2 separate regions of the Homo sapiens genome follow, and region 2 is linked to region 1. The links are contacts of gene promoters, found by promoter capture Hi-C in blood cells and fetal thymus (Javierre and others, 2016). All regions are on one chromosome and are shown on one strand. Each heading gives the region's core, a stretch centred on a gene start or on the middle of the fragment in contact. The rest is flanking DNA. Distances are from core to core; before and after follow the strand shown. Region 1 holds the start of NSL1 (NSL1 component of MIS12 kinetochore complex). Region 2 has its middle 22 kb from the start of LINC02771.

Evidence for each region. The method cuts DNA at HindIII sites, captures the fragments that hold promoters and counts their contacts. A CHiCAGO score of 5 or more calls a contact.
Region 2: a contact is called between a fragment that was not itself captured here and the fragment with the promoter of NSL1 in region 1, in 1 of 17 cell types (monocytes). The highest score is 7.6, in monocytes.

Annotation. Positions count from the first base shown.
Region 1 is chr1:212,788,294-212,796,223 of GRCh38, forward strand. NSL1 (NSL1 component of MIS12 kinetochore complex) reads right to left here and starts at 3,484. Exons shown (of 6, transcript NM_015471.4): 1 at 3,237-3,484. The coding sequence starts at 3,470. TATDN3 (TatD DNase domain containing 3) reads left to right here and starts at 3,601. Exons shown (of 10, transcript NM_001042552.3): 1 at 3,601-3,694; 2 at 6,802-6,834. The coding sequence starts at 3,629. RefSeq lists enhancers at 2,157-2,935, 3,410-3,689, 5,824-6,324, 6,203-6,272, 6,613-6,662. The HindIII fragment of the contact is 10,286 bases long and covers 2,860-7,930 here.
Region 2 is chr1:212,490,892-212,498,821 of GRCh38, forward strand. No RefSeq gene overlaps it. Among named protein-coding and RNA genes, the nearest start is that of LINC02771, 22 kb to the left of the region's middle. The HindIII fragment of the contact is 2,387 bases long and covers 2,446-4,832 here.

The DNA.
Region 1 (7,930 bases), core at 2,234-4,733:
TCCCGGCTACTTGAAAGGCTGAGGCTAGAGGATTACTTGAGCCCAGTGGTTTGAGAATACAGTGAGCTATGATTGCCACTGTACTCCAGCCTGGGAGACAGAGGGAGAAGCAACTGTAACAAAATTTTGACAACTGTTGAGTTTGGTGGTGGATATATGGGTGTCCACTGTACTAAACTAATTTTTTGTAAGGTTGAAAATGTTCATAATACATTAAAAGATAAAGAACCAAAAAACAAAAAACAAAAACAAACAAAAAATAGACAAATTGGACTTCATCAAAATTTTTTTTAAATGATGGACTAAAGGAATTCGGCAGTACACATTTCCTATTACCCAACAATTTCACTTCTAGCAATGCATCCTAAAGGACTACTCTCATAAAAACTAAAGAGAATGTGCTAGAAATGTTCATTTCAGCACTGTTTGAAATTTTTAAAATTGTGGGAAAAAACCTAAAGTCAAAATTAGAAGAGTTAAATAGACAATATTCATACCACGCAGTACCTAAAAAGGATGAAGACAAGCTCTACGTAACACTAACAAATAATAGACATGTTTGGTTTCAAAAAAGGCAGGTCAATAACAATTCATCAGCATGACATTATTAATGGAGACAAACAAACATAAACAGAGAGAAAGAGGTAAAGCCACAGAAAGGGGGTATAGAAAGTTTACTCTCCCCAAGTACTCTCCAAAATAGTACCTTATGTCCTAGAAGGAAGAGGGATGGGGAAGGGGAACTCAAAGAATTTTGCTTTATGCTACTGTTTGAATTTTTTTATGAGCATATATTTTGTACCCTTTGTATAATTAAAAATAACATAAACCAAATTACTGATAATTATGAGTTAAAGTACATATTCTACATTTCAAAGATTTCATAAAGTAAAATCCTTATTTTATTTTTTGTTTGTTTGTTTTTTGTTTTTTTTGAGATGGAGTTTCACTCTTGTCAACCAGGCTGGAGTGCAATGGCGCAATCTTGGCTCACTGCAACCTCCGCTTCCCAGGTTCAAGCGATTCTCCTGCCTCAGTCTCCCGAATAGCTGGGATTACAGGCAAGCGCCATCACACCCGGCTAATTTTTGTATTTTTAGTATAGACAGGGTTTCACCGTGTTGGCCAGGCTGGTCTGGAACTCCTGACCTCAGGTGATCCGCCCGCCTCAGCCTCCCAAAGTGCTGGGATTACAGGCGTAAGCCATCGCGCCCGGCCTATGTATGTTTTAAAATTATTTTCTAGAATTACTTTCAAGAATTGCTGAGAAAACATATTGTCTTTGTAACATTCATTGCAGACTGCTACCAATACTGTTTTTAAAGAAAATCTGCTACTTAATATGCAGTTTTAAACAGAGATACAAAATAAAGCTTCTGCTTTATTTAAAATAAAACACAAGTGAATTCCTGTGGTAGTCTAAGCCCTGTAAACTTTATCTTATAATTCACTTTATCGTCCCACTAAATAGGATATAATAGGTTAAGCCAAGTTCCTCTTTTTCTGTAAGACACCTAAATGTTTTAAATACCTTAGCATTTCCTAGAATCAGACAAATTCTAAGATTATACAACAAAAGTCTTCTCCCAAAAAACTACTAAAAACGTCCTGAGATATATCCCTATTCTTGCCTTGCTTGCAAGGAGGGAATGACGTAAGAGTCACTATATACAAAACTACATACAGAGTCACAACCCAGGAAGTGTTTCTTCATTCTTCCACTGAACCTTTTTTTTTTGAGATGGAGTCTCGCTCTGTCACCCAGGCTGGAGTGCAGTGGCGAGATCTGGGCTCACTGCAAGCTCCGCCTCCCGGGTTCACGCCATTCTCCTGCCTCAGCCTCCCGAGTAGCTGGGACTACAGGTGCCTGCCACCATGGCCGGCTAATTTTTTGTATTATTATTATTATTGTTTTAGTAGAGACGGGGTTTCACCATGTTAGCCAGGATGGTCTCGATCTCCTGACCTCGTGATCCGCCCGCCTCGGCCTCCCAAAGTGCTGGGATTACAGGCGTGAGCCACCGCGCCCGACCCCTTTTGCCTGTTTTAGAGTGAAAACATTTTCTTTACAAGACTAAAATAGGTTAAAAAAAATTGTGTTGGTTGAAAACTTTACTAAGATCATACATTTGCCTCTATACCACATTTCCCAAGCCTTTCTTAAATATTTTTGCAAAGCCCTGAAGGTGGTAGTTTTTTGGGAACACAAGAAATAAAGGGATTGTGTGCTTCCTTATAACAGGCACCAATCTACTTATATTAGCGGAAAAAATTTAAAAGCTCATAATACCGCACATTTGTGAGTTATGAATGACCACAGTGCAAACAGTAAAAATAAAGGTTAATAGGCCGGGCGAGGTGGCTCACGCCTGTAATACCAGCACTTTGGGAGCCCAAGGCGGGCGGATCACGAGGTCAGGAGATCGAGACCATGCTGGCTAACACGGTGAAACCCTGTCTCTACTAAAAACACAAAAAAATTAGCCGGGCGTGGTGGCAGGCGCCTGGAGTCCCAGCTACTCAGGAGGCTGAGGCAGGAGAATGGCGTGAACCCAGGAGGCGGAGCTTGCAGTGAGCCGAGATCGCGCCACTGCACTCCAGCCTGGGCGACAGAGCGAGACTCTGTCTCAAAAAAAAAAAATAAAATAAAATAAATAAATAAATAAAACATGCAAAAGGAAAGATCAAATGCTGCTTGGGTGAATGGCTGACTTCCAGAATTACCCTTTCCAGGAGAATTCCTCATTGTCTGCGGCTGCATTGTCCAACAGGTGAGCCACTAGCCACTTTGTAGTTACTGAGCGCTTAAATGTAACTAGTTCGAAGATGTGCCGTAAATGCAGCACACCAGATTTGAAAAGCTTAGTACGAACAAAAGAATGTAAAATATCTCATTCATTTGATATTATTACATGTTAAAATACCTTGGATTTATTGGGTTAAACAAAATGTCTTATTTCCATTAACTTCACCTATTTCTTACTTTTAGTTTAAAACTACATAAAGATTAGCTTGCCTTGTATTTTCACTGGACAGCGCTGGTCTAAGTAATTAATAAGACCCAGCTGACATTAGCATCTATTTCTTTCTCCTCTAGCGTTTCTCGAACTGGTTCTACAGTAGCCTGGGGCACCGTTAATTCTGCCAAGGCCTGGCGTGGGATCTTTCTGAATCCTAAGATCCTGGGTGTTGGGTAAGAGGATGATGAGTAAAGAACTGGCTAACTGGTCCCGTACCCACTGCGCATCTCGCAGAGCGGGCTCCCGAATCTCCTCCGGCAGAGCGTCCCCGAGCTTTTGCACGAAGCGGCCGCACAGTTGTAGCATTTCGGTCACAGCCCGCTTCGAGGTGCAGCGCACCCGAAAGTCTTCTCGGGGAGTGGCGGAGACCAAGGCCTGGCTCTCTGTGCCAGCCGCGAGCTCCTTGTCCCATGGAGGGTCAAGGACCACCAACTCAGGAGACCCCGCCATTTTTCGTCGGAACTGTGGGCGGGGCACTCTGGGAGCGGAAAAGCGGGTTCACACTGGTGTAACCAGCATGCATCCGGCTGGAAACTCAGGACGCTGCAGCTGAAACGTTCCGGCTCCGGCTCTGCTGGCCGGTCTAAAGCGGCAGCCGCCGGGGCGCAATGCGAGCGGCTGGCGTAGGCTTGGTGGACTGTCACTGCCACCTCTCCGCCCCGGACTTTGACCGCGTATGTGAGGGCGATACGGGACCAGAGGGAGCAGGGAGGCCCCCGTCCTTTCCCCTCGTGTTATCTTTGCTCTCCTCCCTTGGGACGAAACCCCATATCCCCCGCCCAGACCCTTGTTTATGGCCATATGACCTTGCCCCTCATTTCCCTATTCCCTATTTAACCTCAGACATACCGATTTTTTTTTCCTGATTCAGTAGCGGTAAGCTATCTCCACAAGGCTTTTGTTTGCTCTTCTGAGTTCCTGGAATCGTTCCCTCACTCCCCTTGGCTGGCCTGTTTTTCCCCTCGGGGCTCTCACCTCCTGGCTGAGATGCCACTCTTTGTGGGAAGCGGTCCTCGAAACGCGTTCAAATCGGGGAGAGGTCGGGCGCGGGCTCACGCCCGTAATCCCAGCACTTTGGGAGGCCGAGGCGGGCGCTGCGCATCTCCTGTGTCCAGGAGATCGTGACCAGCCTGGGCAACATGGTGAAACCTCGTCCCTACAAAAAAAAAAAAAAAGCCGGTGATTGTGGCGTTTGCCTGTGGTCCCAGCTACTCGGGAGGCTGAGGTGGGAGAATCGCTGGAGCCCAGGAGGTGGAGGTTGCAGTGAGCTGACATCAAGCCACTGCACTCCAGCCTGGGTAACAGTGAGACCCTGTCTCAAAAAAAAAAAAAAAAAAAAATTCACAAATGGGGGAGAGAGGCAAACAAACAAACAAAAATACATGGCCGAGTGTGGTTGCTCACACTTGTAATCCTAGCACTATGAGAGGCCGAAGTGGGTGGATCGCTTGAGCCCAGGAGTTTGAGACCAGCCTGGGCAATGTGGTGAGACCCCGTCTCAATTAAAATAATAATACACACGTAAAATCAGTTACAAACTGTTTTACCCATTACGTGGGAAACTAGAGACTAATAATAGAGGATTAAGGGGGGTTTTATTTCAGGGGGAAATCCTCCCAGGAGCTGACACTTAAGGCTGAAAAGACAAGGAGCCACCCAAGCAAGGGGGTGAGTGTATGCTGGTTAGGGAAACAGATAGGTTGCAGGCCCCCAGACAAGCTAGAATTTGGCACATTTCAGTTGCCAAAAAGCTAAGTGGAGCCTGATGAGCTAGAAAGAGAAAGGCATGAAACAAAACTGGGGAGGTTTGCAGGGGATAGATGAGGTGGGTCAGTAAGGAATTTGGATTGCATTTGAAGCACAATGCAGATTCATTAAAGGGCTTTTTTAAAATTTATTTTCATTTTTTTATTTTTTTAGATTGAGTCTGGCTGTGTCCCTCAGGCTGAAATGCAATAGCATGATCTCAGGTCATTGCAACCTCCACCTCCTGGGCTCAAAAAATTCTCCTGTCTCAGCCTCCCAAGTAGCTGGGATCACAGGTGTGTCCCACCACGCCTGGCTAATTTTTTGTATTTTTAATAGAGACAGAGTTTTGCCATGTTGTCCAGGCTGGTCTTGAACTTCTGGCCTCAAGTGATCAACCCTCCTTGGCCTCCCAAAGTCCTGGGATTACACAAAAATGGATAGGCATGATGCTATCCATTTTAACACCATTTTGCTGCTGTATGGCAAATGGGTGGAGGAGAAGAGTGGAAGCTACAAGACTAGTTAGGAGGCTTTTGCAGTATATAGGCAAGAGATGTTGGCTGTTGGTACTATGATGATAGCAGGTGAGTTTGAGATGAATACATGGATTCAAGATACATTTTAGAGAGAGAATCCACAGTAAGTACTGAAGAATTGGATGTGGATAGCAAGGGAAAGGGAGGAGTCAAGGATGACTCAGATTATTAGCTTGTGCTATAGGGAAGATGGTGGTGCTGGTTTACTGAGATAAGGGAAGACCAAGGTCTGAGGTGGAGGTGGGGAGGTCAGCAGAAGGAATAGGTTTGTGGGGAGAAAATAAAGATTTATGTTTGGGGCATATTGGGAAACCTAATCCCATCCAAATGAAGATGTCATAATTTTTAAACATGAGTCATGGGCTCAGGAGAGAATTACAAGCTAAAGATAAAAATTGGGGGCCGGGCGCAGTGGCTCATGCCTGTAATCTCAGCACTTTGGGAGGCCGAGGTGGGCAGATCATAAGGTTAGGAGATCGAGACCATCCTGGCTAACATGGTGAAACCCTGTCGCTACTAAAAGTACAAAAAAATTAGCTGGGCATGGCAGCATGTGCCTGTAGTCCCAGCTACTTGGGAGGCTGAGGCAGGAGAATGGTGTGAACCCGGGAGGCGGAGCTTGCAGTGAGCCGAGATCGTGACACTGCACTCCAGCCTGGGTGACAGAGCGAGACTCCATCTCAAAAAAAAAAAAAAAAATTGGGGACTCAGGCTGGGTTCGATGGCTCACACCTGTAGTCCCAGCACTTTGGGAGGCCAAGGTGGGTGGGTCACCTGAGATCAGGAGTTAAAGACCAGCTTGGCCAACATGGTGAAACACCATCTCTACTAAAAATACAAAATTTAGCTGAGTGTGGTGGCGGTCACCTGTAATCCCAGCTACTCTGGAGGCTGAAGCAGGAGAATCACTTGAACCCGGGTGGCAGAGGTGGCAATGAGCCGAGATCGCACCATTGCACTACAGCTGGGAGACAAGAGTGAAACTTCATCTCAAAAAAAAGAAAAAAAATGGGGGCCTCAGCATAATGATGATAAAACCATGAGAGGAAGTGAAATCACTCAAGGCAAGTGCAGAGAGAGGAGCAGATGTTCTTGAAGTCTGAAAGAGGAAGGGGAGCTAGTCAAGGAGACTGACAAGTAGCCACCAATGAGAGAGTGGTATTGCAGAAGTGAAGGGTGGAAAGCATTTCAAGAAGGAAGGAGTAAGCAAGTGAGGGATTCCGAATGCTGCTGAGGAGTAGAGTAAGATGAGGACAGAGAAATACCCTGTATATTTGACAATAGAGGCTTCTGTTTTAGTGCTGGGAACAGTAGCCAGACTTTACTGATAGTAAGAGTAAACAGGAAGTGGGTCAGTGTAGGCTCTTTGTTTTCCACCACTCCATTAGTTGCTATCATTGTTATTTTTTGTGATGCCACAACTACATTGACATATACAGTCCAAGATTAGCTGCTTATTCATCTAAAATAATGGTGATTTCTTATGCTTGTTTTAGGATTTGGATGATGTGTTGGAGAAAGCCAAGAAGGTAAGTCAATATTTGTAATTGCTCTTTTGGTTTTTTATTTTAACTATCATTTCAAGCCAAAACAGCTTGAAATTTAGATATACTACCTTGATGTTTCAGTAGTTTATAGTAAGTAGCATTTTTTATTTTTATTATTTTATTTATTTATTTATTTATTTATTGAGACAGAGTCTCGCTCTGTCGCCCAGGCTGGAGTGCAGTCGTGTGATCTTAGCTCACTGCAACCTCTGCCTCCAAGGTTCAAGTGATTCTCCTGCCTCAGCCTCCTGAGTAGCTGGGACTATAGGCACACGTCACTGCACCCAGATAATTTTTGTATTTTTAGTAGAGACAGGGTTTCACCATGTTGGCCAGGCTGGTCTTGAACTCCTGACCTGAGGTGATCTGCCCACCTCGACCTCCCAAAGTGCTGAGATTGCAGGCGTGACCCACTACGACCAGCCAATTTTTATTATTTATAATTAAAATAGAGACAAGATCTGACTATATTGCCCAGGCTGGTGTCAAACTTCTGAGCTCAAGCAATCTACCCACCTTGGGCTCCCAAAATGCTGGGATTATAGGCATGCGGCACTGCTCCCAGCCTAAGTAGCATTTATTAAGTGTTTGCTACATGCCAGGTAGTGAGCTAAGGCCTTTCTCGACTTTACCTCATTCAATGTTTCACAATAGCCTTCTGAGGAAATTACTAATTTATAGCCAATCATTCCCCATTTTTATAGATGAGGAATCTAAGGCCTAGAGATGAGTAACTGGTCCAAAGACACATGCTAGTGAACTGATAGAGACAAGTTAGTCTGAATTCAAAACATGTTCCTATAGCTACCATGCTCAACAGCCCTATGGAACAAATTGGTCCATCTTTCAGTTTTTAAATTCATGTGGTTCTGGAGATCTGGGATATATTATTAAAGTTTTCTGAGATGTTTTGATTTGCTTAGAAAAATTATTTTTTTGGAAGTGTTTATGAAATTCATTGTAACTAGCATTTTGTGGCCATCTCAAAAAATGATACAGCCAGAAATGGTTGTAGTGCATTTTTACATACAGGTAACTTTCACTGTGGCAGCTTAATTAGGAATGTGGGCTTTGGACA
Region 2 (7,930 bases), core at 2,389-4,888, 300 kb before region 1:
AAGTCTGGGGTGAAACTCAAGGCCCTAGGCTTTGTGACATGCCTGTGGGGTTAGGCGATTTTCCACTTGCTGAGGCTGAAGATGACCCCGAGAGCAGGAGTGTGGCACCTCACCCAAGGTGAGGATGTCCCCAGGATTCAGAAGAGCCTGGCCACACTCCTTACCTGTCTGGCCTCTGCCCGGCTCCTGGCTGGTGTCAGCCACTGCTGGCTGCTGCCCGAGGGCAGAGGGTGCTGGTCCTGAGCAGAGATGCCCCCTGTTCACCAGTCCTGGCCTCCCAGCCTGGGGTATGCCTCCCACCCCCTGCCTTGCCCTGCTTCCGGGGTCTCCAACAGAAGGCTCTCAACTCCCCCCGCCCCACGACCAAAATGTCTCCTTCCATTTTCCACTTCATTTTTGACTTTCATTTTTTAAACGTAAAAAAGACTAAATCCTTTTGGGAATTATCCCATGAGTAAATAAGATCTCTCTGTGTTCACAAATTCCTGCTTTGAGCAATTGGAGACTGCTCTTCCTTTCCCTTCTGAGGCCTAAAGCCCATCAGTGGTCCTGGAAATACAAGGTGAGCTTCCCTGTCTTGGAATCCTTATCCTTCCCCTCTACATACACAGATTGGAATGGGGAGGTGAGCCCAGCAGAGAAAAGGAAGTCTGCTGGGTTTTGGAATTGGAAGCTGGACTCTGCCATTTACTTGCCGTGTGACCCTGAGTGAGTGGAGAGCTCTAGGTTTTGTTTTCCTTATATCCGAAATGGGAACTGAAACTGTTCCCTCACATGTGAGTTTAACAGAAGGAGCCTCCCCTCCCCCACCTATCCAGCATGCAATAAAGTTCTTGGTATGCGCTAAATTCTTGTCTGAATTCTACTGATGCCCATGTCTTCCACGAAGTCTTCCAGATTATCCCAACTGTGGTAGACAGCTAACTAACTACCCTGTATCTACTTCCTCCACTTCTTCACTAACAGAATCCCAATGTTGCTTTGGGGAGCAATGTGTCCAGCTAACAAACTTCCCAGGCTTCCTGGCATTCAGGGGCTCATGGGTCACAGGTAAGGCCAATGAGATGAAAATGGAAGCATCTGGGGATGACTTCCGAGAAAGCCCTTTAAAGGAGGCTGACTCCACGGATGTGTGCTCTGCTGCCTCTTACCCTCTTTTCTCTTTTATTCTATGGGATGAGAATATGATGTCTGGAGCCACAGTGGCCATGTCACGACCATATGGCAACCTTGAAGATGGAAGTCACATCACATCCTAAGTATGGCAGAGCAAAAGGGTAGAAGGAGCCTGGGAAACTGAGGTGTGGCGAGGAGCTGCAACGCAAGCTCTGGTCCACCAGACTCCAGGGATTATGTGACATGAGGAAAGAAGAAACCAGTCCTGCTGGGCTATTGGCTGGTGTTCAGCACCTGGCAAGGTGGCTAGAACTTGTGAGGCTCTCAGTACATTTGATGTTAACTGGCAGGTACCAAGGGAGCAAGATGAGAAAGGAGATGGAGGAGGCTGGAAGGCTGTTCAGATTTGATCAAATGTCCCACAGTTTATCCTATAGATACATTACCTGCACATAACATTATGTGTGGGTGAGTTTATTCACTGCAGTATTAGATGCAATAGCAAAAAACTAGAACCAGCCTAAATGTCCATCAATGGGACATTGTTTAAATACATTATGGTTCATCCATACATTGAAATATTATATTTTTGTACAGTTCTTGAGCTAAGCATGGTTTTTACATTTTTAAATGTTTAAGGGAAAATTAAGAATAATATTTATTTATTTATACATATATTTTTGAGACGGAGTGTCACTCTGTCACCCAGACTGGACATTGCAGTGGCTATCGGCTCCCTGCAACCTCTGCCTCCCGGGTTCAAGGGATTCTCATGTCTCAGTCTCCCCAAGTAGCTGCGAATACAGGTGTGTGCCACCACACCCAGCTAATTTTTGTATTTTTAGTACAGATGGGGTTTCACCATGTTGGCCAGGCTGGTCTGGAATTCCTGACCTCAGGTGATCCACCTGCCTTGGCCTCCCAAAGTGCTAGCATTACAGGCGTGAGCCACTGCACCTGGCCAAGAATAATATTTTGTGATATATGAAAATTACATGAAATTCAAATTTCAGTGTCCATAAAAAAATTTCACAGGAACACAGCCACATTCATTAGTTTAGGTATCATCTGTGGCTGCTTTTGTACTACCATGCAGTATTGAAAAGTTGTGAGAGGAGGCCTATGGCTCTCAAAGCTGAACGTATTTTCTACCTGGCTCTTTACAGAAACCATTTGTAAGGCCTTATGCAGACATCTCTGGAAAGCTGCAGGAGAAACTAACCACAGCTGGAAAGTGAGTGTCCACAGGATAGGGTCAAAAAGGAGACTTCTTACAGCATAACTTTTGTATGTTTTGAATTTTGAATCGTGAATGTTTAACCTACTGTAAGCTTACTTTGAAATCTATTTATTTATTTTTAATTTTTTTAATTAAAAAAATAGAGATGGGTTCTTGCTATGTTGCCCAGGCTGCTCTCAAACTCCTGGCCTCAAGCGATCCTTCTGCCTCAGTCTCCCAAATTCCTGGGATTATAGCTGTGAGCCACAGCATCCAGCCCTTAATTTGAAATTTAAAAAGAAAAAAAGAAAAAGGGCCCCATTTCCCCTCTGGGACTGAAGGAAGAGGAAGAAGAGATGGAAGAAGGGGTGGCTAACTTAGTGCTGGTCTGGGTGAGGTCATGGGCCTACAGTGGAGAGGCTGCAAGGTGATCCCAGACTTGCCCTCAGCCTTGTGCTTGCTACGTGACCCAGGACATTCCCCTTCCCTGTGGGCAAGTGGTCAGTGCTGCCCATGTGCCTAGAGGCCCTGGCCCAGAAAGGGGCCAGAAGATTGGCCTCCATCTCTCTGCCTGCAGGGGAAACAAGAGAAATGGACACGTACACCCGGACTGTGGCCTCATCAGTAGCTGATAAACAAGAAGCAGAGTGGATTGGGAATGTGGAATGGTGAGAAGGACATGGACACTGGATTTTAGTTCTGCTTAGCCACCAACTGTCCCTGTGACCTTAGATTGGCCATTTTCCCTTCAGGGCCCAGCTCTATCCCTGCCAACTGGGGCCTTGACCAGAATGATGGTCCTGCAACTGCCATTCCTCTACCCCTTCCACCCACTCCCTTCTGTTTAGCCTATTGGGCATCCACTCAAGACTTCACAGAGGCCCTGGATTGAGAAAATGACAACATACAAGTCAAAACAATAGCCGGTGTGCTAAATAATCTGTAGGACACATGGTTCTGCCACTCCATAGCTCTGAGAGCCTCCCCTGGTACAAGTTCTTCAGGCAGAGAAGTCCAGGAAACACCCTTCAGACACAGGCAGAGCAGTGGGGACACCACAGCCCTGGATGATATCCAGTCTGGCAAAGCAATGGCAGGCAGGAGGTGGCGGGAGGGGTTCATGGACATGGTGGAGGGCTTCTCATGAGCAAACCCAGGTGGATGCACTAACACCCTGAGTGCTGGGAATTCATGGCTGCAGCTCCAGAAGATCCTTGAGGAAGTCCTGCTGGCGGCGAAGCCCACACGGACATGGCGTTCTGTGGAGGTCTGTCCATCTGAGCAAGGTGTGTGGCTGCATCCTCCTGGCCCTCATAGTGAGGACCAGCCAGCTCAGAGGACAGCCAACATCCTCAGAGGGTGCTAGCTATGTCCTCAAGGCTCCCTCAGGCCTGGAAGCCTTTCCTCTCCCTCTTCTCTATCAAGCCCCCATGCCTTGTTCATGACCCTGCTCAAAACTTTCCTCTTGAACCCACGAGCTAACTTGAAGGGGCTGCTGATGGCCGAAAATGAGATAGTTGGAGCCACAAAATAAATAATGATCACAATAGATTATAACTTACAGCATTTAAGGATAAAACAAGAAGTAATGAGTCTATACCAATAGAGGTAAATATTCGAATAAGCAAATAAACAGGCAAGAAGGGAGAGTTCTTCCTTAAAGCAGCATTATAATTAGTAGGAATTAGAAGGCATGATGGAAATAGAAAACACTTGGCAAACACTTACCATTATAGTTGTGTTAAGCAAGAATCATCAATGGAAACAAACACTCATGAGCGAAAATGTAGAGAAACAAGATGCTTACATTATCTCAAAGCGCCTTCCCATAAGATGGTTAGTAATTGCAAAGAGAAAAGTAGTCACTTTATAGTAGGAAAAATGTGGCAGACTCCACCTTAACCAGGTGATCAGAGTTAACATAATAAATAATAGAACATATCAACCTCATGTACCATCTGATATAATGTACCAAGAAAGGCACAACATAAACTTATGTGGTGCTCTTAAAAAATTTGGCTGAGCGTGGTGGCTCATGCCTGTAATATCAGCACTTTGGGAGGCTGAGGCAGGAGGATCGTTTGAGTCCAGAAGTTTGAGATCAGCCTGGGCAACATAGGGAGACCTTGTCTCTATAAATAATTTAAAAATTAGCCGTAGCGTGCTGTGGAGTGTGCCTGTAGTCCCAGCTGCTCAGGAGGCTGAAGTGGGAGGATCACCTGAACCTGGGAGGCGGACGTTGCAGTGAGCCAAGATCGTGCCACTGCACTGCAGCCGGGGTGACAGAGTGAGACCCTGTCTCAAAATAAATAAGTAAATAAATAAGTAAAGAAAAACATAAATAATAAATAAATAATTCACAACCTGAGGAAATACCAGCTAAACCCAAATTGAAGGACATCCTACAAAATAAGTGTCTAGTATTCTTCAAATGTTTGAAGGTCATGAAAGTGTAAGTGTAAGCTGAGGAACTATCCCAGACTAGAGGAAACAAGGAAGCTTGGCAACAAATGCTCTATGTGATCCTGGATCGGCTCCTGGTCAGATAAGGACATTTGTGGGGCAATTGACAAAATTTGAATCAGGTTTGTAGTTATGTCAATTTCCTGGTTTTGATGATGCACTGTAAACATGTAAGATGTTAACATTTGGGGAAAGTGGGTGAAGGGTATCGGGAATTTTTTGTACTATTTTTGCAGCACTTATGTAACTTAGAAATGGTTTTTGACAAAACAAAACAAAAACCTCTTCTGTCCAACTTCCCCAGAATCACTCCCACAGCTGTGTCACCAGCTACTTCACACGTTGCATTGCTATTGTTTACACATCTGTGTCCCTCAGGCTTTGAGTTCCAGGACAGGGACTCTGTTTCTTCAATCTTCAGTTTGGCCTCATTTTAGAAGTCACGTTTGGATGGAGGCTGGCTGTCCCTCTTCAGAACAACTCTCCACTCTACCCCTTCATTATCCCACAGTAAAAAGCAGCGCTGTCCACTCTGTTGCTCAGACAAAATCGTAAGGGTCACAGTTGACTCTCTTTTTGTCTCATCCCACGGTGGGTCCACCAGCAAGTCCTGTTGGAGTTCTGCCTCCAGAGTTTATCACCAACCAGATCACTTCCCTGCTCCTCCGCCAGACCCCTCATCTGAGCCTCCATCACTTTGCAGCTGAACCTGAGCCTCACCTTCCTAGCCGACTTTCCCCTGCCTCACCTTCAAGTCCACTTGGGGCAGCCAGAGGGATCTTTTCAAGGGGAAAGTAGGGTCTCACATCACTCTTTGCCTAAAACCATTCCCCGCATTGGTTTCCCAGCATGTACTATGAAAGTCCCTACCTGCTCTGGGGCCCTGCCTTCCTTCTGCCCTCAGCTTGAACCTGTCCACCCTCCCTCACCTGGCTCCAGACACACACCTTTCAGCTTTGCTGCAGATATGGCAGGTTTGTTTCCATCTCTAGGATGTGGATTTTCCCCGGCTTTTCCCACAACCATCTCCTTCCCAATATTCAGGTCTCAGCCCCAGTGTCACCTCCTCAGATAGACCTTACCCGATCTGGTAGCCAAAATCCTGCTCTTCCCCTAACACTCTTTGTCCCTATATTAGTTTGCAGTGGCTGCTGTAACAAAGTGCCACTAACTGAGTTACTTAAAAGCAACAGAACTGAACTGTGTCACAATTCTGGAGACTACAAGTCCAAGGTCAGGGTTGGTTCCCTCTGGGAGCTGTGGGGGAGAATCTGCCCCAGCCCTCTCTCCTGGCTCCTGATGGTTTGCTGGCGATCTCTGGTGTTCCTTGGCTTGTAGAAACATCGCTTCAGTCTCCACCTTTATCTTCACATGCATTCTTCTTGTGTACATGTCTGTCTCCAAATTTCTGTTTTATAAGGACACCAGTCATATTGGATTAGGGCCCACCCTACTGACTTCATTTTAATTAGATTACCTCTGTAAAAACCCTATCTTTTCATGCCACTGCACTCCAGCCTGGGCGACAGAGCGAGACTTTGTCTCAACAACAACAACAACAACAACAACAACAACAAAACCTATCTCCAAATAAGTGTACTAGGGATTCATGCAGAACCCCTAGTTTTTTTGTGGAAACATAGTTCAACCCATAACAGTCTCATTTCCATGTTACATTTAATTTACAGCCTTTATAACCATTTTGAAGTATATTGTTTACTTGTTTGTGTTCATTTCCTGTGTCCCCACACTATATCCAACATAAGCTACATGAGGACAGAAGTCTCCTCCAACCTCAGTGCTTGGTGCTTTTGCTCTGCACAGGGGGATCTAGCCTCTATTTCTACTGCATGGGTCAGGATACCTCTCTCAGGCTGCCCCAAATGAGAGGAACTAGCCCTGCCCTCACTCAGTTTCCACAAGCAGCCAATGGGATTGTTCCACATGCATTACTTAGCTCAGTGTCCAGCCAAAGGTTTGCAGCATCCAACCCTGGATCCAGCCATGAACTTCAGAGCTTCAGAAATGCCCTACATATAGTAAATGCTCAGTAAATACTTGCTGAAGGAATGAAGGCTGCATATAGTTTGGACTTTGACTCAGGTTGCGTGCCCTGCAGTCAGGGGGAACTATTAGCATAAGCTGATAGTTCCAGGCAGCCGCTGTGGAGCTAGACTGCTTGGGTCTGCGCTTGTGCTGTGAGATGTGGGCATGTTACTTATCTACTCCTTGCTTTGCTTTCTCCAACTGTAAAATGGGGACAATAATAAAAGTAATAAAAGTATCTCCGTAGTCGAGTTGTACAAAACGAGTTTACATATGCGGACAGAGTGCCTGGCTGAAGGTAGTGCTCCATGCTCACCCAGGCTTGGTCTGAAATCTGAGAAATGTCCTGGTAGCCAAAAGAACCAAAGCCCAGAGAGGCTTGTCGGGTCCATCAGGGATGCAGAAGCTCCAGGTTTCTGCTCAGGCCCCCGCTTCAGAATCCCCATCTGCCCCCAAGGAGAGAACAATTGAGCACTAGGGAGATTTTGACCATAAAAGCTTTTTTCAGTTACTAGCTGGGTGGACCTTGGGGTTTCATTGGTGCTTCTGGCTGATTGAGAAGGAAAAAGAGGATCTAACTCCTCCCACTCTTTCTGAACTCCTGAAGCGAGGTGTGGAGCTTCCAGATGACTCAAGCAGCGCCAGTTCCTTGGAATTAGCCACTCTGGCTCAAAACCATCTGTGTTGCAACAGGCTCACTCAGCCACCCCCAGAAAAGCTGACCCACCACTCACTCAACTGGCTTTCTGATAAGTATGCCTATATATAGCCATACTTACCGAGCTTTGTATAGATGCATGCACTTGGAAACCAGCAAAGCTAAAAATACCGCCTCCTCATACCTAATTTACTTATTTTCTGTAGGTTCCTTATTCTAAATTTATAGCTCAGGAGACTGAAAATTGTTGCCAGAAAGCAGTGACCTTTCTGTGGTCGTGGGCGGGAGGGGGACCAGAGGACAGGCCCTGTCTGGGAAACTTGGGGATTAGGTCTCAGTCCCAGCTCTAAAGGCAACGTGCTGTGATGCTTTGGGATATCCTCCCTCTTGCTGGGCCTCAGCATCCCTCAACCGAAGGAACAACTGAA